7 separate regions of the Homo sapiens genome follow, and regions 1, 2, 3, 4, 5 and 6 are each linked to region 7. The links are contacts of gene promoters, found by promoter capture Hi-C in blood cells and fetal thymus (Javierre and others, 2016). All regions are on one chromosome and are shown on one strand. Each heading gives the region's core, a stretch centred on a gene start or on the middle of the fragment in contact. The rest is flanking DNA. Distances are from core to core; before and after follow the strand shown. Region 1 overlaps SULF2 (sulfatase 2). Region 2 overlaps NCOA3 (nuclear receptor coactivator 3). Region 3 overlaps SULF2 (sulfatase 2). Region 4 overlaps SULF2 (sulfatase 2). Region 5 overlaps NCOA3 (nuclear receptor coactivator 3). Region 6 overlaps SULF2 (sulfatase 2). Region 7 holds the start of ARFGEF2 (ARF guanine nucleotide exchange factor 2).

Region 1 (2,700 bases), core at 183-2,682, 1.2 Mb after region 7:
TCCAGGAGTTCAAATGAACCCCCAAGGAGTTGATTTCTCTCTACTGTCAGCTCTGTTTTTGTCTGCTCGACTGTATTCACAGAAGCTCTCTCTCCTCCTGGTAGCAGTGCGGCCTTCCTTATATCCTCCCAGCTTCCTGGCCAGCTGCAAGCATGGGAGTCTCTTTCCCAGGAGTCCCAGAGAGTCTCAGTGCATCTCATTGGCTCTGGATCAGTCCCATGTCTGTCCCTGAGCCAATCAGAGTGGCCAGGAGGATGCCTGGTTCCCTGGACTATAAGTCACATGCTCCACTCCTGAGCCAGACATGGGGGTAGCAGGAGCTCTACGCTGGAACGTTGGCTGGGAATAGAGCCCCAAATAAGAATGGAGTTTCCACCAGGAGAAGGCTGACTAGGTGCTCAACGGCCAAAAAACACTCTGTCCCACTTCTGTTCTGGAAACCCCGGCACACATGGAGATCCCTCTGCCTCCGACAGGTCATCCTGGGCTCCCTGTAAGTCTGATGGGTCCAGGCCCAAGTGGCAGAAGCCGCCCCCGGCCTGCCCTCAAGTCTCATTCTGCACATAGTAGGCCTCCAGCCTCCCAAGTGAATTAATTCCAAAGTTCTGATGAGGCAGTCCGGCATGGACTCCTTGGAATATAAATTCCAGTCCCAGGGCTAAGCACGCTGTTTCCCTCCTCCCAGCCTCAGTGCAGGCGGATTCTCTAAATATCCTGAAAAATACATTCCCTCCTTTTTAAAATTCTTCACCACATCCACGCCTCATCTCAGAGCAGCCCGATAATCAAGTTATCCCGGGGTGCTCAGGATTCTTTTGGGGCTAAGCATGGGGACATAGAACGTCCGTCCTTTTGCCCTGTTTCCTGCCCACACACATCTCCCCCTGTGAATGAGAACAGCCCTGTGAGGGAGGCGTGAGAGGATTCCTGGCCCCCCAGTTACCAGGGGCCTGGGAACAGAGATGCTCTAACAGGGACGTGGGCAGAGGGCGGGGCGGTGAAGTCAGAACTGGCTCAGGTCCAGGGTTCAAATCCTGAGGGTAGCAGTGGGCAGCAGGAGCCCAAGCGTCAAGGGAACAGGGGTGAGCCCGGGGTTTCCAGCCAAGGCAGAGCTCAGGAGCCCTGTGCCCTGGGCCCTAGATCAGGCAGTAAGATGCCTCTGGCAAGGCAGAATGTCACTGCTGGCCTCGGGCGGGCCTTGTTGGGAGGCCCAGGCAGGGAGGAAGCGGCAACCCTTCGTAAGCCCCCCTCAGAAGGCCTCTGAGGACTCTGTCCCAAGTCACTAATCCACAGATGGGCACATGCCACCAAAGGGGTCCAGATGTCAAGGGCAGAAAGAGAGGCAGTGGTGATGAGAAAAGAGTGATACAGGACAAGCGCTAATGGCAGAAGAGGGTTGGAGAGGGGAAGACAGTTGTTAGTGGGAAGGGAAGTGAGAATGACCTAGAGTTGAGTCCACCCGAAAAGAGGCTTCCAGGTAGCTGGCAAAAGTGGGCCTGGGTGTTGGGTGGCTCTGCAGGGAGGTGATGGCAGTGCACGGCCAGTGTGGGGGCGACCTGGCAGATTCTATGAACTTCATGTGCCCCGCCCCTTGCCGCAGCGTGTACACTTCTCTGTCTATCTGGAGAAGCCTCAGTCATAGGCAGGAGACGGCGTGATGGAGCAGCTGGTTGTAGCTCTGTTTATTACTGAAAGAAATTAGCAAAGTCCACCAATACACGAAATAACTAAATGACCGTGAAGCATCCCTCCTCTGGAAGATCCTCGGCAAAGGATGAGGCCGGTCTGCCTTATGTCCTGAGCCCATCAGGCAGAGTGGGAAAAGCAAGTTCCAGAACTCCTGAGGTCCTTATTCAAATGTCACCTCACTTTAGCCTTCCTGGACCACCTTGTATAAGGGCACCCCCACCACACTCCTTACTGCAACAAATCACCATCTGGTGCATTACACCCTGTGTATATTACTGATTCATTTGTTAAGTATCTGTCTCTTCTCATAAGAATATAAGCCCCATGAAGGCAGGAATGCTCATTTGTTTTGTTCACTGCTGTATTTGTCAGATAGATAAATGAATATGTACAGTATGATGTGATTAATAATATAAAAAGATGCATAAAGTGATACTATAATGTACCTAACAAAACACTGGAAAGGTTATTCCCAGTAGGGGACAGAAGAGCCAAGGTTATGGGGGTGGGGGGGTGGTAAGGAGTAATCTAATCAAATGAGACTTCACTGTCCTTTGTACTATTTTAATTTTCACAAAGAAAATGTAGGCATATGGTTCTTGAGGAATAATGACTAACACTCATTTAGACATACCATGTACCAGATACTGTTTGAATCATTTTACACAAATTAACCCATGCATTTCTCATCATAGTCTGTGAGGTATATACTGTGTCTATTCCCAACTGTCAGATGAGAAAACTGAGGCCCAGAGAGGCTAAGTAATGTAACCGGGCCACATAGCCTAGTAAGTGATAAAGCAGAATTCGAACCCAGGCCATCTGGCTTCAAAGTCCATGCACTAAACCACAGCCCGTGGGCCCAGACTGGTGGTTTTTGTATGGCCCCTGAGCTAAGAATGGTTTTTACATTTTCAACTAATTGAAGAAACAATCAAAAGAAGAGCATTTTTCACATGGTATATACAAAAATGAATGTCATTCAGCCTTTAAAAAGGAAATCCGGCCAGG
Region 2 (2,700 bases), core at 158-2,657, 1.3 Mb after region 7:
TTCCTTGTGAAGTAAAGAGGGAGTGAATCGTGTTTTTGTCTTTCATGTGCAATAAATGTAATGAAGCTTATGTCCTTAGTAATGTTAACTTGGGGAAGGCACATTTTCATTGTCAGATTTACCATAATTTGGTTGATATGGAAACTGTTGCGGAGGAGCTTGTGGCATTGTGGGTCCTGCCAAAAGCCCATCCATGCTGGGGGAAGCAGTCACATTAGGAGGTGGGCTGAAGGCCTGGGTTTGCTGCTGTTGCTGCTGTTGCTGTTGCTGTTGCTGTTGCTGCTGCTGCTGCTGCTGCTGCTGCTGTTGCTGCTGCTGCTGCTGCTGCATCATCATAGCCACCCTCTGTTGTCGGAAGTGATGACTTAGCAGCTCTCTGCTGCGTTGGGCGACCATTTGAGCATTAAGAAAACCCTGCTAATACCCAAGAAAGAGTGCAATTACATATATATAGCAAGAACCTGCCAGTTGCATACATATAGTACCCCCACAATACACCAGGTATAAGACAGAAAACACCCAGGGCCTTCTTTTTTTTAACAGGGTCTCACTCTGTCGCCCAGGCTGGAGCGCAGTGGCACAATCTCGCCTCACAGCAACCTTCGTCTCCCAGGTTCAAGTGAGTCTTCTGCCTCAGCCTCCCAAGTAGCTGGGATTACAGGCGTGCACCACCACTCTGGCTAATTTTTGTATTTTTAGTAGAGATAGTGCTTCACCATGTTAGCCAGGCTGGTCTCAAACTCCTAACCTCAGGTGATCCGCCCACCTCGGCCTCCCGAAGTGCTTAAATTACAGGTGTGAGCCACTGTGCCGGCCAAAACATACAATTCTTCACATAAAAGCTTTCTGACCTGGTGCAGTGGCTTACGCCTGTAATCCCAGCACTTTGGGAGGCCAAGGTGGGCGGATCACTTGAGGTCAGGAGTTCGAGACCAGCCTGGCCAAAATGGTGAAACCCTGTCTCTACTAAAAATACCAAAACTAGCCAGCCTTGGTGATGAGCACCTGTAATCCCAGCTACTCAGGAGGCTGAGGCAGGAAAATCCCTTAAACCCAGGGAATTGACGCTGCAGTGAGCCGAGATCGTGCCACTGTACTCCAGCCTGGGCAACAGTGACTCTCAAAAAAAAAAAAAAAAAGCTTTCTGGCTATTGCAAGGGGAGGGAGGGAGAACTGAAGAAGAGGGACCTGAAAATTATTTGGGGTTAAAAGACAAAAGACAACACACTGTCAAGCTTTAACATGACTAGAAACATTCCACAAAGTAAGAAAACATTTAGGGGTGGAATCTGAGGACAAATTTTTCAGGAACTATGAAAGACAATTACAGGAAAATGAGGATTCAGTGTGTTGGGGTGGTGGAGGGCTGAAACATGAAGCCAAAAAAAATAAGATGGGGTTATACTCAGATAAGCAGGGGTCCACCTCAGAAAATCTTGAACTTTCTTTAAACTTTCAGAAAGAGGTAAGGGGCAAGCAGAAGCTATCTGGAGGTTCAGAAGGTGACATAACTGAAGTACAACAAGGAAGCTGATTTCAGCTCTACTAGCTACGGGTCATCTCCAAAAAGCAAGCTTTTATCATCTTTCTGTAGGACATTCTAGCTCAGCTTCCACAAGATGTTTTATTATCAAGAAAATGTAAATATCAGTACTTCCAAGTAGGCATAAGACAATAAAAATCGAGCATTTCACAGTTGCTTTTTAAAAAACAATTATAAACGATATTTCAAATCACAATAGAGGATTGCTGTGTGGTCATCTGCCTCATGCACATTAAAAAAACCCCTCAATACTGTCTCCACCACTGGCTGGAAGTAGAAGGGAATTTTAATATCCCCTCCTACTACAAGAAACAGGTCATCTCAGAGGCTATCACTGAGAACAGGATTATGTATTCTTTATTTTCTTCTTTATAATTTCAGAATTTTACCCAGTGTGCATGTTGTTTCATAATCCAGGAACAGAGGAACATTTACAGATTTATTAAATTCCTAAACAGCCAAGTGATAGCTGTTCTCACAGTACAGCAACTGATCACAAAGGGAACCAATTAAAAAAACACTAATCGATGGTTTTAATGAAGAAAGCTCTCCCTCCTCTGATTCCTCCCAGTCACCAGCCAGAGAGAAGAATGGAAGAGTCGAAAGTCTTTAATGCGACTGCTTTCTTACACAAGAAATTCAGAATTACCTTCATTTGTTTAACAAACATTTACTGAGAGCCAACCACAGGCCAAGCCCTGTCCTGAGCACAGAGCAATGCATGTGGAGAGGCTTATCATCCTCACCTGGGAGCTCACCTGGGGCTGCATCATAGGCCTCATCACCGCAGCACCACCAGCAGTAGGGTTTTCCATTTTCAATTCAAGTGCCTGTCGGCTCTGATTCAAAAACTGAGGTGAGACAAGTTGGTTAGAATGCAAGCAGAGCACGTCAGTCTGCCAAAACAGCTTTCCAGACCCTCAGCACCAGCCAATGAGGTAATATCTCCAAACACAATAACCTGGCTAAGTCACGTCTAAACTGAACCAGTACTTTCACACTGCAAAAAGGTCAATGTTGAAAAGTCTTTGGCTAGCATATGATGGGCTACTGTTTGGCACTGGGGAAAAAAAAGTAAAGTGCAATTTTGCAGCTTAAAGAATATCTTCACACCTGTAATCCCAGCACTTTGAGAGGCTGAGGTGGGCAGATCACTT
Region 3 (2,700 bases), core at 118-2,617, 1.2 Mb after region 7:
TTCTCCTCGGGCTAACCTTTGAGTTGACATGTTCTGGCAGCGAACATGCTGCGTCTGGGGCAGGGGAGCGGACAGGCCACTGTTCCCGGCAGCAGCTTCCTTGGATCGGCTGGGATATTATGGAGGCTGGCTCAAATGAGGTTTTTGAAAAGCAGATGTGTTGCTATTAAGACTGTCATTTGGTCTGCCTTCTGCTCATGCCCAGATGTGGGAACACACACCCAGCACTCACACAGGGCTGGCTGCGGAATTCCTCCTGAAAAGGCGTTGACAGTGCAGTGTGGAATTCCAGACTGACATGTTCCCACTGCCTTGGACATTTTGCGAGAATTCCAGGAGGCAGGCTGCATGAGTTCAAGGCCAGAGAAAGTGATGACTGACTGTTGACCTTATCAGATCACGCCCGTCTTTGGCTCTTAGCGTCCCCATTGGACTAAGAGCTGTAATAACGACAGTCCACACGTATGGAGTGTCTACTCTTCAGGGCCTGGTCTAAGAACTACATAATAATTCATTGCAAGCCGGGCCCTGTGGCTCATGCCTGTAATCCCAGCACTTTGGGAGGCCCAGGTGGGCAGATCATTTGAGGTCAGGAGTTCAAGACCAGCCTGGCCAACATGGTGAAACCCTGCCTCTACTAAAAATACAAAGATTAGCTGGACATGGTGGCGTACACCTGTAATCCCAGCACTCAGGAGGCTGAGGCAGGAGAATCGCTTGAACCTGGGAGGTGGAGGTTGCAGTGAGCCGAGATCATGCCACTGCACTCGTCTGGGCGACACAGTGAGACTCCATCTCAAAAACAATTAATAATTCGTTTCAGCATCACAACTGCCCTGTGACGTGGATGCTCATAGTAGCCCCATTTTACACCCAAGGCCACTGAGGCACGGAGAGGTTAAGTTGCCTGAGTTTACAGCAAGTAAGGGAAGGGGCTGGGGCTTGAAACCAGGCAGTCTCTATTCCCATCTGCCACGCCTCTCAGAAACTTCAAACCATCCCTGTGAACAGAAAGAATCTGACCCACTGAGGGCTCTACAAACACTGACATTGGGGGTTTGGTCAGCCTCGGAATCTGTGATCTGACTCATAGGGCCCAAAACCACATCCCACATGGTCAAGAAAAAGAGAGTGCTCATGTCAGGTTTGGGACCAAAGACACACGGTATCTGTCAGCCAGGACTCCTTTGGTTGCAAGCAGAAATGACCTTTGAACCAGATAAGGCATGTAAGATAAAAGGAACACAGTAACTATAGTTACTGAAAAGTCCATGCACAGCTCCAGCCTCAGGCATGGCTGGATCCAGCAGTCTTACAATGCCATTGGAAAGCTCTCATTTCTTATCTCTCAGTCCCACTTCCGCCGAATTGGCTTCATTCTCAGGTGGGTTTTTCTCCTTGTGGCAGGGTCAGCAGCTCCAGATTTTCAGCCATCCTGTTTAGGAAGCCAAACTGCTTTGAACAGAAGACCTGAGGCTGACTCCCACTGGCCTGACTTAGGTCACGTGTCCTTCCCTGAACCATTCACTGTAGCCAGAGGTGACAGAAACCCTTGAGTAACCAGGCTGAGTACATTGGGCAGGGGACTCTGAATGGGGCCAGGTAGTTCCTACAGAATTAGAAGCTGTGACACAGAGCAAGGCATTGGTGCTGGCCAGGAAAAGCAACCACTGTCCTCCTTCCCCTGAGCCTGGGGGAGCGGGACCACTGGACAAGCTCAGCCCCATTAGCTGCCGGTTGCTGGGTTCTGCAGAGCGCCCGTCGCTCAGCAGTCTTCCCAGCTCCCTCGCCTCTGGATTCAGTTGTAGCGCCTCACGCTGGCCTTCGAGCCCCCCATGACACAGCCCCATCTTCAGCAGCTGCACACATGCTTGGCAGCCTGCCCGACGTTCACAGGGCACTGGACTGGGGAGAGATGAGGGGTTAAAGATGACGGAAACCCTAGGACCCAGGCCCTGCCCTGGTCCCCAGGGAACTAGCGGGGAAGGCACTCAGATGCTCTGACGGGACTGTCCACCATTCAACAGGTCCTGGGTCCTGTGCTGGGCACACCCCTTAAGTCCCTTACCCTACATTGGGAATGCCATCAGCCAGAAACAAGAGCCAGGAGAGGTGGCTCATGCCTGTAATCCCAGCACTTTGGGAGGCTGAGGCGGATGTATCACCTGAGGTCAGGAGTTCAAGAGTAGCCTGGCCAACATGGTGAAACCCCACCTCTACTAAAAGTACAAAAATTATGGGTGTGATGGCGCATGCCTGTAATCCCAGCTACTCGGGAGGCTGAGGCATGAGAATCGCTTGAACCCAGGAGGTGGAGGTTGCAGTGAGCCAGGATCATGCCACCACACTGCATCCTGGGTGACAGAGCAAGACACCTCTCAAAAAAAGAAACAGGAGCCAGGAAAGGTGGCAGATGTATGGGAATTCACTTAGCCAATATTTACTGAGTAGCTCCTCTGTGTTCTAAGGGTATAAGTCCTGGAGATACAGAAGTGACCACCTGAGCCAGCCTTCCTGCAGCTTAGAGTCTAACTGGGCAATAGACAATAAGCCAGAGAAATAAGTAAATTATATAGCATATGAGATGGTGATAAGTCTTCAGGAGAAAGATAAAGCAGGGAGGGTGGGGAGGGGGCGCAGTTCCGAATAGGGTCCTCAGGAGGGGCCTTGTGTTGGGTATCTGTGCTGCAGAACAAACTG
Region 4 (2,700 bases), core at 150-2,649, 1.2 Mb after region 7:
TTCATCTCCCTCACCTCTGTACCCCACGGTGCGGGCAGATGCAAGAGGACGGCAAATATTCACCCCTTGAGACCAGCCCGCTGCTGTTCCTCTCCCTGGGGACGATTTGTCTGTGGAGTTGGGTGGATTATTCAGAGACGGCTGTTATCTGACTCGGGTCTTGGGCTGCCACCGACACATCAGAGGCTCACTGGATCCAGGGAAGAAATTGTTTCTGCAGAAGTGGCCACAGAAGGCTTTTCTGCCAGTCTGTTGACCAAGCAAACTGTAAAGACTTTGCTAACTTCAGCGGAGTTCGGTTTTCACTCTGCCATAGCCACCCCTGTTCAAAGAAACTCCCATTGTTCATGCCAGCCGCCATACAAATCATTATGCAAGAATGAGCAGCCGGCAGCCTTGACATAAATATTGACCTGATTCTTCCTCCTCCTCTAGATCTGCGAGTGAAGAGGGACGAGGGAAAAGAAACAAAGCCACAGACGCAACTTGAGACTCCCGCATCCCAAAAGAAGCACCAGATCAGCAAAAAAAGAAGATGGGCCCCCCGAGCCTCGTGCTGTGCTTGCTGTCCGCAACTGTGTTCTCCCTGCTGGGTGGAAGCTCGGCCTTCCTGTCGCACCACCGCCTGAAAGGCAGGTTTCAGAGGGACCGCAGGAACATCCGCCCCAACATCATCCTGGTGCTGACGGACGACCAGGATGTGGAGCTGGGTAAGCCTCGGGGCCCCAGGGTGGCACCTCGGCCCCTCGGAGCAGGGTCCCTGGGTTAGGCTGAGGCTCCTGAGGCAAGGCGGTGGTGTTGATGCGTCGTGCTCACTTTTGAGTACATTGAAACCAAGACACGGGCCACCCACACGTGTTTGGGGTCACAACTGGGTCCTCAAGGTTAGGGGTCTCTACCCTTCTCCAGTTGCACAACCGTTCCTGGATTTCTCCAAAGAGTTAAAGAGAACAGGCTGGGCGCTATGGCTCATGCTTGTAATCCCAGCACGTTGGGAGGCCGAGGCAGGTGGATCACCTGAAGTCAGGGGTTCGAGACCAGCCTGGCCAACGTGGTGAAACCCCGTCTTTACTAAAACTACAGAAATGAGCCAGGCATGATGGCGCACACCTGTAACCCCAGCTACTGAGGAGACTGGGGCACAAGAATCACTTGAATCCAGGAGAAGGAGGTTGCAGTGAGTGGAGGTCATGCCACTACACTCCAGCCTGGGTGACAGAGTGAGACTCTGTCTCAAAAAAAAAAAAAAAAGATGAGACATGAGCCTGGAGCCAAATTTTGGAGGCTCTTGTGGGTTGTGGCAAAGACTGTCAATCATTGATCCCGTGAAGGGTGATCCCTCAGCCTCTGTCCACTCTTAAAGGATAACAGCGTGTTGTTGGTGGCAACAAATGTGAAGGTTGACTAGGTTAGCCTTGACAACCTGAATTTGTCTTTTAGCTACCAGGAAAAGGCAATTTACATAAAACCAAGTTGTTCCTTGCAATGCTTTGTATTAATGATCACAAGTATAGTTTTTTTCCTCCGGGAGCTTCTCAGTGCAGAAAGAATTTGTAGCCAGGAAGCAATCAGAGCCCAGAGCTTTTATTGACAATTTGACACATAGGATACCTATCTCCTGGCAGCATTTAGAATGAGGCGCATTTGATAACTATGGGGAGTCTGCAGACTGTGGCCAGAGAGGTGTGTTTCGTTTCTTGAAGAATTTTGCAGAGGGGTCTTGCAGGCAGCACCTGGACCTCAGAGCTTCTTGGTCTCACATTGTGTAGCCCCGACGCTGTTTCGGCTATAGTCATGCTTAGAATTTCCGATGCCCTGCACGTTTGTTCATTCATCCAGCAGATGTTTATTACGCATTTGTTGCATTCAGTGCACTGTGTCAGGAGCCAGAGAACTAAGGGAGGCTCATTCCAGGTGAGGAGAACAGGAAATTCAAAGATACTGAGATAGAAATGGGCTCGGTGGTTTGGAGCAAAAAAAAAAAGTGCCAGGGAGCCGGAGTGGAGGGAGCTGGGGCCGTGATGGAGAGAGATGAAGCTGAGGAGCTGACTTGGCCCGGGTTGCACCAGGCCTTGTGGCCATGGTGGGGGCTTTGAGTTTGATTCTTAGTAAAATAGACATGGATGAGGGGGCCTTAAGAAGAGGAAGGCCGTGACCTCACTTAGGTTCTAACAGGATCCCCCAGCTCTTTTGATGAAATTAAATCGCAGGGGTAAGGGCAGAAACAGGACACTCATTCAGAGGCCGATGGGGTGATAGGGCAGTGATGATGGAAGCTCAGACCCGGGTGCTGAGATGCGGTCCCACCTGATGTATATTTGGGAAATAAACTGATCAATGGGTTAGGTATGTGGGTTATGGAAAAGATACGTTTCAAGGGCAGCCGCTAGATTTGGGGCCCGAATCAACAGGTGAGTGGCTGAATACCCACTCTTAGGAACAACACATTTTTGCAACATGATCCAGCTAAGTCTCATGTCTGAATCTGACTGAATTTTGCATCTGTGACTTGTGAATAAAACCAACAGTGTATGCAGATAAAAAGAAAGCAAAGGCATATGCAGATATAAGGAAACCAACAGCGTATGCAGATACAAGGAAACCAATAGCAGGTATGAAGTAGACACAGGAGAGAGGGGAACAAAGAAAGCCGTGGCTGACTTAAAATACAGAGATTTCTTCTCTCCATTTGACAGATGG
Region 5 (2,700 bases), core at 66-2,565, 1.3 Mb after region 7:
ACTTTTGCTTAATATCAAATACAATGGAGACACCAAATATACATACTCAAAAATACTATGAAATTAAAGAAGGTTTCATGACAATAGATGGTCCTTAAAAACTGTCTAGGCCTTTTCACTCTAAGCAGCACTAGGGTGGTTGGCAAAAGCAAGTGCCTTACAAAAAGTGGCAGAATGGGAGCAAAGAAGAAAGTGGTTAATCCATTTCCTAAAAAAGACTGATATGATGTGAAAGCACCAGCTGTGTTTAATTGGTAACAAACTAGTCAAAAGGGCTCAAGGAACCAAAACTGCATCTGATGGCCTCAAGAACTGTGTTTTTGAAATGAACCTTGCTGATCTGCATAATGATGAAACTGCCCTTAGAAAATTCAGACTAATTACTGAGGACATCCAGGTCAAAAACTATGTGACCAGCTTCCATGGCTGGTCTTGGATCAGCTTTCAGGCCTTTTCTATGTCTTTGAATGCAGACAGAATGATCCAAGCCATAATAACTGGTCACACAGTTTTTGACCTGGACATCCTCAGTAATCTTTTCTGTGACAAAATATGCTCCATGGTTAAACATGGCAGACTTCATAGGAAGCTCCTGCTGATGTCAAGATTGCCAATAGTTATCTGTTTTGTATAGGTTTTACTAAGAAATGCAATAATCAGACTTGGGCAATCTCTTATGCTCAGCACCAACAGATATGCCAAATCCCAATGATGATGGAAGTTGTGACCCAAAAGGTACAGACAAATAACTTGAAAGAAGTGGGCAATAAACTGACTCCAGACAAATTAGGAAAGACATTGAAAAGGCTTGCCCAGGCCAGGCGCGGTGGCTCGTGCCTGTAATCCCAACACTTTGGGAGGCCGAGGTGGGTGGATCATGAGGTCAGGAGTTCGAGACCATCCTGGCTAACATGGTGAAACCCCATCTCTACTAAAAATACAAAAAATTAGCTGAGTGTGGTGGCACATACCTGTAGTCCCAGCAACTCGGGAGGCTGAGGCAGGAGAATGGTTTGAACCCGGGAGGCAGAGGTTGCAGTGAGCCGAGATCTCGCCACTGCACTCCAGCCTGGGCAACAGAGCGAGACTCCGTCTCAAAAAAAAAAAAAAAAAAAAAAAGTCTTGCCCATATATTTATCCTTTCTATGACATATTCATTAGAAAACATACTGAAGAAAACCAAGTTTGGTTTGGGAAAACTCATGGGGCTTCATAGTGAAAGGTAATTCTGCAAAAGCTACTGGAGATTTAAAAGGCACTAATATTGAATAAGCTGACAGAAATAAACCACCAGTCCAATAATCTGTTTAAAATTCAGAATTTTAATGGTGACCAAAAATCTTATTAGTAGCAGGGGGAGACTAGGGAAAAGGGATAAACGCATTCTGGGAAAGAGTAAATACCTGTGCACTCGTGCCCAAAATAGACATGATTTGTCCTCAACCACCTCTCCTGAGTTTAGCCCTGGGCCACATGACAAATACAAAACAGATGTCCATAAAAAGTTTATTAAATGAAACACATCAGGGACAGAAGATAAAATATCCCCAGAGGTCAAAAGTAAGTAGGATCTCAGTTTTAAATGATGTTAATCACACAAAGCATTTGATCTTTCTTGCTTGGCAATTTTTTTCTCCATCATGTCCTGTTTTCTTTCATGCTTGGTAATTTCTAACTTTTATAATAAACATGTATCACTTTTATATACTGATGAGATAATTTTCAAAGATGCTACTTGCTAAATTGCTTAAAGATATTTTATTTAGTATCTTCAGTAGCAAATGTAAAACATGGCTATTCAAGTAGAAAATTAACACTGCCAAATCATAAGAGGTGCAGAGAAAGACTCACTCTAAAAGGATAAAATAATATATAACAATTGCTGTCACTATGTTTATCTGAGGGGAGTTAATACAGAGAAAATGTTCAAATATAAAGTAACATACAGCCGGGCATGGTGGCTCATGCCTGTAATCCCAACACTTTGGGAGGCCGAGGCAGGCGGATTACCTGAGGTCAGGACTTTGAGACCAGCCTGACCAACATTGTGAAACCCTGTCTCTACTAAAAATGTAAAAAATTAGCCAGGCGTGGTGATGGGCGCCTGTAATTTCAGCTACTCGGGAGGCTGAGGCAGGAGAATCACTTGAACCCAGGAGGCAGAGGTTGCAGTGAGCTGAGATCATGCCATTGCACTCCAGCCTGGGCACGACAGAGCAAAACTCCGTCTCAAAAAAAAAAAAAAGTAACATCCATCAGCGTAAACAAGATTATACTGTGAATTGTCAAAATAATCCTTTGCTACTTTTAATTGTGAAAATTAATCTCAAAAATCCTGAAGATAGGTTACTGATGGCATAAAATGATTGAATGACTGCAAAAATAGCAATATTTCTTTAAAAATATTCTGCATTATGTATATTATATATACATATTACAAACACACACATACATATGTAATAGTGATAGCTATGTTTTATGTATACCTACTCCATTTTTATATCACTTGTTAAAAGTCCACATTGTAAAATTAGTGTTACACAAAGCAAAGAATACAGGCTAAGTCAGGCAGACTCAGCTATAAATTTTCTTATTAGCCATGATCTTGGACAATAACCCAATCTCTGTCACCAAGCTTCTGTTTCTTTATCTCTGAGATGGGGCATATATGACAAACCCTTGGCATCCCCATTTACACTT
Region 6 (2,700 bases), core at 55-2,554, 1.1 Mb after region 7:
GCAGGGGCAAGCTGGCTGAGGACGGCACGCTCGCCTGTGGATTGGGTGAAAAGGAAAGAAGTAATTGGATTATTAATACCAAGCCGTCAAAATACCTTTTATTCCTTTTATATTCTTCTGGAAGGAAACGACAATCTCTGGAAACATAAATACATGTTCTGTGGGGGTAAGCAGGGCTAAGAAAATGTGGGGCTGAAAAGGAGGAGGGGGTTAAAAAGGTGGAATTGTCAGTCCCCACTGTGGCAGTCTACACTGAGAACCAGCCCACAGTTAGGCGTGAATAATGACTCTGTTCAAGTCGGACTTTATTGCTTTTGGCCAAAGGCCTTTTGCAGAAATAACTTTGTAACTCCCTGCCAGGGAAGCTTTTGTCCACAGCTGAGACAAAGGAACAAAGAACAGAGGTGGGAATTTCTGTATCTGATTTCTACTTCCTCTAAACAGCCAGAAAGGACAGCGGGTGTGGCCTGCCCAGAAGGCATGGGCTGGGGCAAAGGGGTGTCCAGCCTCCTGTGGGCCACACTGCCGTGCTCGGCTGCACCATGTTGGTTTCATTGTGCACATTCCCACCCCAGGGCCTTTGCACTTACTTCCTCCGTTCATAGAAAGCATTTTGCCCACAACTGGCTTCTCGCCCGCCTCTGCTCTCAGCTCAGATGCCATTTCCTTATGCCACCTCCTCATGCCAGAGAGGCCTTTCCCAATTTACTGTCCATCCTATCACCTGACAGCTTCCTCCAAAGCTCTTAAGACAATCTTCATTCATTCATTTTCTCCTCCACCAAGGTATCACAGCTCCATGAGGACAGAGGCCTGGCCTGCCTTGTGGCCACTGCTGTTTCTTAGCATGTGGCACATAGTAGGTGCTCAGGAAAGATTGGATAGCTTGGAAGAGTCGCACATAGCTCCCAGGCCAAGCTCCAGCGGGGCTTTATGGAGCCCGCTCAGTGCTTAAAATAGGTTGAAAGTTTTTACTTTGGAAATGGTGTTTCCGGTGTAGTCCAGGCGCCACCCCATCTCTATCCTAAATCTAGGCCACTTTACTCACTCAGGTCTCCTGCCCGACCCTTGGATGCATTTGCATATTTGTCCCTGCTTTAGACAAAGGCCACTGCAAACATATCTCTCTCCAAAGGTCACCAGACAACATCCAGACTTCTTGCATTGCCAAGTCTTGTGCCAGACCGGTGGCCTCCACCAACCAGGTCCCATTGACTGGATCAAGGTGTAGTCTTCATCTTAGCCGTCCACGCACAGGGCGTAAGTGGCGTTGATCTCATCATAAGCAGGTCATGGCAGGAGGAGGGTCGGGCAGGAGACCTGAGTGAGTGAAGTGGCCTAGATTCAGGATAAGAGACGGGGTAGGGCCTGGACTACATTGGAAATGCCATTTCCAACGTAAAAACCTTTAACTTTTCCTTTTTCCCCTTTTCCTTTTCTGCTCTCCTCCAAGCCTCTGGGTCATCAAGGAGGGAATCGCGTGAACTCCTCCTTTATGGTCTTCAAGGAGACCTACTCCCAATGTAAGGGGAAGCGCAGAGGCCTTGGCAAGCAAGAATGTAACCACAATGTCATTGCCTTTATACTGTTGCCATCTAAGTATGGCAGGGGTTCTCACCTAGGGGCAGTTTTGCCCCCTAGGGGGACATTTGGCAGTGTCTGGAGATATTTTTGATTGTCACAACTGGGGTAGGTGCTACTTGCATCTCATGGACAGAGGCCTGTGAACACCCTGTGATACACAGCACAGTCCCCCATCGAAGAATGATCCTGCCCACGCGGCAGTAATGCCAAGGTTGAGAGACCCAGGTTTATGGCAATGGGTGCTGGTTCCTCCAAGATAGACTTTTCTTTCTAAATAAATTTATTGAAATAAGAAAGGGAATGAATGAATGAATTTAGGCCCAGATTTGGGTATTCTACTTATACCAGACTTTTAAAAATTCATTTATTTATTCTGAGACGCTGGCATATGGGATGGAGCACAGAGGTTAACGATCAGCCCTGTCATCCCTTTCGGAGCAGATCAGGCTGTACCATTTGCCTCAAATCAGGAGCCCCTGCCCTGGAAGCTGCCATCTTGCCAGAAACTTCCTGGGGAGCTGCCTGTAAAAAACTCTAGCAGCAGTTGATTCTGGCCCAGGTGGAAAAGCTGTGTTATCCCAGGCGGAGTTCCGGCAGGTTGGGAGATGTTTCCAGGTCTCCTGCCCAGCCAGGCATGATGAGCATCCTTCCAAGCTTGGCCCCGGAGCCCTGGCCCAGCACCCCCATTTGAAGCCTGCAGAGCCTCATCATCACTGCCCCCGCCCCCGCCCCATCCTGCCACTGACAAGCCAATACCTGCCTGATGAGAGGGGCTCCCAGGGACAGCAGCCTTCCCTCCTGGACTCCAGGGCAACCTCCATGTTGTTGGGCGGCTTTGAGCACAGGGCTCAAGGGCAGAGGCTGAGTTGGAAAATTTCTTGCCTCTGCAGAAGGGAAGAGCTGGGGGAGGTTGGGGCCTTTTTCCCCAAACGAGGTCTTATTCTTCTGTGGGGTTTTCTGGGTTTGTTAGGTGGCTTCCTTTCTACTTAAAAATAAGCTGGGAGTGGTTAAAAAATGGGAAGAAATCAATGTTTCTGGCGTACATAGAACTGAGCAGATGTGTTATCTAGAATAAGGAGGAGAGGTTGTTGTGACTCTAGCTCCTGGTACGAGCCC
Region 7 (2,700 bases), core at 141-2,640:
GCTCAAGTGTCACCCTCTTGGAAAAGATTACTTTCCTGACCACCTGATTACTTTTCCTCTTGGAAAAGATTACTTTCCTGACCATGGAAAGCAGTCCTCAAGCCCTCTTTATCACATCTTGCTGTTTTATTTTCAAAATAGTATTTATCAGTATTCCAAAATACCTCACCTATTTTCTTAATTAATTATTTTGTCTCCTCTATTCGAGTATAAGCTCCATAGGGGTAAGGACCATGTCCGTCTTGTTCCCCACTGAATTCTCAGTACCTGGTATGCAGTGGGCACTTGATAAATATTTGTTAAATGATTAAAACTGAAAGATAGGATAGTGATTTTGCTATCAATTATCAAGCCTTTAACTATTAGTTAGAATTCTCCCTCTTTCCATAATCTGAGGGTCCATTCAATCAGCAAATATTTATCGAGCACCTACTGTGCGCCAGGCACTGTTGCAAGCGCAAGGGATACAGCAATGAATAAGTCAGACAAGTATCTTCGCGCTGAAGACCTTGTATTTTAGTGGACTGCTAGGAATAAGCAGATGTCTTGCTCACTACAATGCCTGGGAGATCCAGAACACCTTCTACAATCCTTCCTTGAGGGAAAGAGCTATGGGAGATCCCCAAACCAAAGGAAAACATTCTCCAACGGGCACTTCCAAAACAAGAATCAGGGGTTTCCCTAAACCAGTTGGACGGCTCTTCCTACATGCTCTGTTCACCTAGGGGAACCCCAATCAGCAGAGCTCAGGTAACGAAAAAACTTGGGGCAAGGGCTACTGTTTCTAGGACTTGGAGGTGGTGAGGGGAGGAACCAGGAAACAGGGCGACAAGGAATCGTGGCAAAAGCCCTGAGCTGGAACCCTGAGGAACAAGCTCTGGTTGTCACCAACTTGCTAGGTGACCTTGGGCCAGTCCCGAGCTGCCCGGGCAACACTTCCTCCGGGGGTATAATGAGGAGGAGGCCGGAAGGGTGGAATTCGGGATCGGGGGGAAGCGGAGGCCAGGAGGCCGGGCCAAGGCCGAGTAGGATAGGGCAACGGCCGACGTGCTGAGGCCAGCGCGGGGCAGGGCGGGAGCGGCTCACCCACCGAGCGCCACCTGGCAGGCCCTGCGCAGCTGGGAGTGCTGGGGCCGCTTCACCTCCTTGTCGGCTAGGATCTTCTCCAGGGCCCGGGACACGAACATGCTCTTGGTCTGGCTCTCCTGCATGGCCCCGGCCCGGCGGGGGCTGACGGCCCCGCGGGCGGGCGGCGTGAGCGAGATGGCGAGCTAGGCTGCGGGCCCGGCGTCCCGGCCGGCACCGGCCGCGTCCGTCCGCGCCGCCCCGTCAGGAAGCGACACCTCGGCCCCACGGCGCCGCCATGTTGGAGCGCGTCACGTGACCACGTGACTGGCGAGGCCGCTACGGCCGCCTAGCGTCCGTCGGCCCCGTGACCCCCAGCGGGGCGGAGCCTAAGGCTGGGGGCGGAGCGGAGTCAGGTGGGCGAGAGACAGAAGGCGAGGGTGGAGGGTGGAAGAAGAGAAGGTGGGGAGGGGAGTGGGCATGGGCGAAGGGTATAGGGGACGCGGGGGCTAAAGAAAGGCGAAAGCGGGGAGAGGTGGTGATGGAGATGAGAGGAGAGAAGCGCAAGGTAACGGGAGGTGAAGGGGAGCACGAGAATGGAGATGACGTGGGTAAGAGAGGAGATGAGGAAAGGAAGGGGAACGAGAGGATTGGCAAAAAAGAACGGTGACAAGGAGAGATGATAAAGGGGCAGGAGGAGAAGGCGAGTAGGAAAGAAAAGAGGTGAGGGAGCGAGGACTGGAAGCTGGTGAATGAATGAGAAGTGATCGGGAGTAAGGGGCGTCAGGAGGAAGGAGGAAGGGCGATGAGAAGGCGGCGGCGGAGGGGAAGGGGGGAGGCCCGGCGCGGCGGCTCACGCCTCTAATCCCAGCGCTTCCGGAGGCCAAGGCGGGAGCATCGCTTGAGCCCAGGAGTTCGAGACCAGCCTGGGCAACATAGGGAGACCCTTTCTCTACAAAATAAAAAGTAAAACAGCCGGGCCTGGTGGCGCTGCTTGTGGTCCCAGCTACTGGGGAGGCTGAGGTGGGAGGATCGCTTGAGCCTCGGAGGTTGAGGCCGCAGTGAGCTGTGATGGCACCACTGCACTCCAGCCTGGGCCACAGAAGGAGACCCTGTCTCAAAAAACAAACAAACAAAAAGGAGGTGAGTTAGTTATGGAGGAGATGAGGTGGTGTGGGAAGAGGTGAGAGGGAGGCACAGAGGTAAAAGAAAAAGGAGAAAGACAGGAGGGAGAGGGGAAGTGAAAAGGAAAGAGAGGTAGAAATGAGAGGAGGGGAAAGAGTAGGAGAAAGGGTGAAGGGAGAGGAGGTAGGAAGGGGAGCTGTCAGGAAGAACAGAAAAGAAAGAAAAAGATGAGAGTAACAAGTTAGGAAAACAGGAAAGAGATGGAAAAAGGAATGGTGTAGGAAGGAGGTGAAGGGGAAGGAGGTGAGGAAGAGTGGAAAGAACATGCTGGGAGAATAGGAAATGGAAGGGGTGGAGGGAGAGGGGAGGTGAAAGGAAGACAGAGAGGGAGAGAGAGAAGGTGTGTTTATGTCTATTCTCCACAAGCAGGGTTTCACCACAGCCACTGGCAAGATACACACATCCATATGACCCTCCTGTCACAGCAGCAGTGACCTTGCAGTTCAGTGA

Evidence for each region. The method cuts DNA at HindIII sites, captures the fragments that hold promoters and counts their contacts. A CHiCAGO score of 5 or more calls a contact.
Region 1: a contact is called between a fragment that was not itself captured here and the fragment with the promoter of ARFGEF2 in region 7, in 1 of 17 cell types (total CD4 T cells). The highest score is 6.2, in total CD4 T cells.
Region 2: a fragment that was not itself captured here is called in contact with the fragment with the promoter of ARFGEF2 in region 7 in 4 of 17 cell types (naive B cells, naive CD8 T cells, naive CD4 T cells and 1 more); the score reaches 10.7 in naive B cells.
Region 3: a contact is called between a fragment that was not itself captured here and the fragment with the promoter of ARFGEF2 in region 7, in 3 of 17 cell types (total B cells, naive B cells and total CD4 T cells). The highest score is 7.5, in total B cells.
Region 4: a fragment that was not itself captured here is called in contact with the fragment with the promoter of ARFGEF2 in region 7 in 1 of 17 cell types (M0 macrophages); the score reaches 6.3 in M0 macrophages.
Region 5: a fragment that was not itself captured here is called in contact with the fragment with the promoter of ARFGEF2 in region 7 in 2 of 17 cell types (naive B cells and naive CD8 T cells); the score reaches 5.3 in naive B cells.
Region 6: a contact is called between a fragment that was not itself captured here and the fragment with the promoter of ARFGEF2 in region 7, in 1 of 17 cell types (M0 macrophages). The highest score is 5.4, in M0 macrophages.

What each region holds. Positions count from the first base shown.
Region 1 is chr20:47,695,906-47,698,605 of GRCh38, reverse strand. All of the region lies in intron 4 of SULF2 (sulfatase 2), which reads left to right. Among named protein-coding and RNA genes, the nearest start is that of SULF2, 88 kb to the left of the region's middle. RefSeq lists an enhancer at 640-1,144. The HindIII fragment of the contact is 3,796 bases long and covers 1-2,700 here.
Region 2 is chr20:47,648,699-47,651,398 of GRCh38, reverse strand. It overlaps NCOA3 (nuclear receptor coactivator 3), which reads right to left. Exons shown (of 23, transcript NM_181659.3): 19 at 2,290-2,394; 20 at 123-417. Among named protein-coding and RNA genes, the nearest start is that of SULF2, 140 kb to the left of the region's middle. RefSeq lists enhancers at 1,811-2,528, 2,529-2,700. The HindIII fragment of the contact is 339 bases long and covers 1,238-1,576 here.
Region 3 is chr20:47,679,804-47,682,503 of GRCh38, reverse strand. The region is part of intron 7 of SULF2 (sulfatase 2); the gene reads left to right. Among named protein-coding and RNA genes, the nearest start is that of SULF2, 100 kb to the left of the region's middle. The HindIII fragment of the contact is 5,426 bases long and covers 1-2,700 here.
Region 4 is chr20:47,755,199-47,757,898 of GRCh38, reverse strand. It overlaps SULF2 (sulfatase 2), which reads left to right. Exons shown (of 21, transcript NM_001387048.1): 2 at 436-710. The coding sequence starts at 536. Among named protein-coding and RNA genes, the nearest start is that of SULF2, 29 kb to the left of the region's middle. RefSeq lists an enhancer at 1-505. The HindIII fragment of the contact is 5,711 bases long and covers 1-2,700 here.
Region 5 is chr20:47,628,877-47,631,576 of GRCh38, reverse strand. All of the region lies in intron 8 of NCOA3 (nuclear receptor coactivator 3), which reads right to left. It also overlaps the pseudogene LOC100419565. Among named protein-coding and RNA genes, the nearest start is that of NCOA3, 130 kb to the right of the region's middle. The HindIII fragment of the contact is 2,644 bases long and covers 1-2,637 here.
Region 6 is chr20:47,771,322-47,774,021 of GRCh38, reverse strand. All of the region lies in intron 1 of SULF2 (sulfatase 2), which reads left to right. Among named protein-coding and RNA genes, the nearest start is that of SULF2, 13 kb to the left of the region's middle. The HindIII fragment of the contact is 1,873 bases long and covers 368-2,240 here.
Region 7 is chr20:48,920,401-48,923,100 of GRCh38, reverse strand. ARFGEF2 (ARF guanine nucleotide exchange factor 2) reads right to left here and starts at 1,390. Exons shown (of 39, transcript NM_006420.3): 1 at 1,091-1,390. The coding sequence starts at 1,211. RefSeq lists an enhancer at 680-759 and silencers at 1,130-1,179, 1,220-1,319, 1,550-1,629. The HindIII fragment of the contact is 17,186 bases long and covers 1-2,700 here.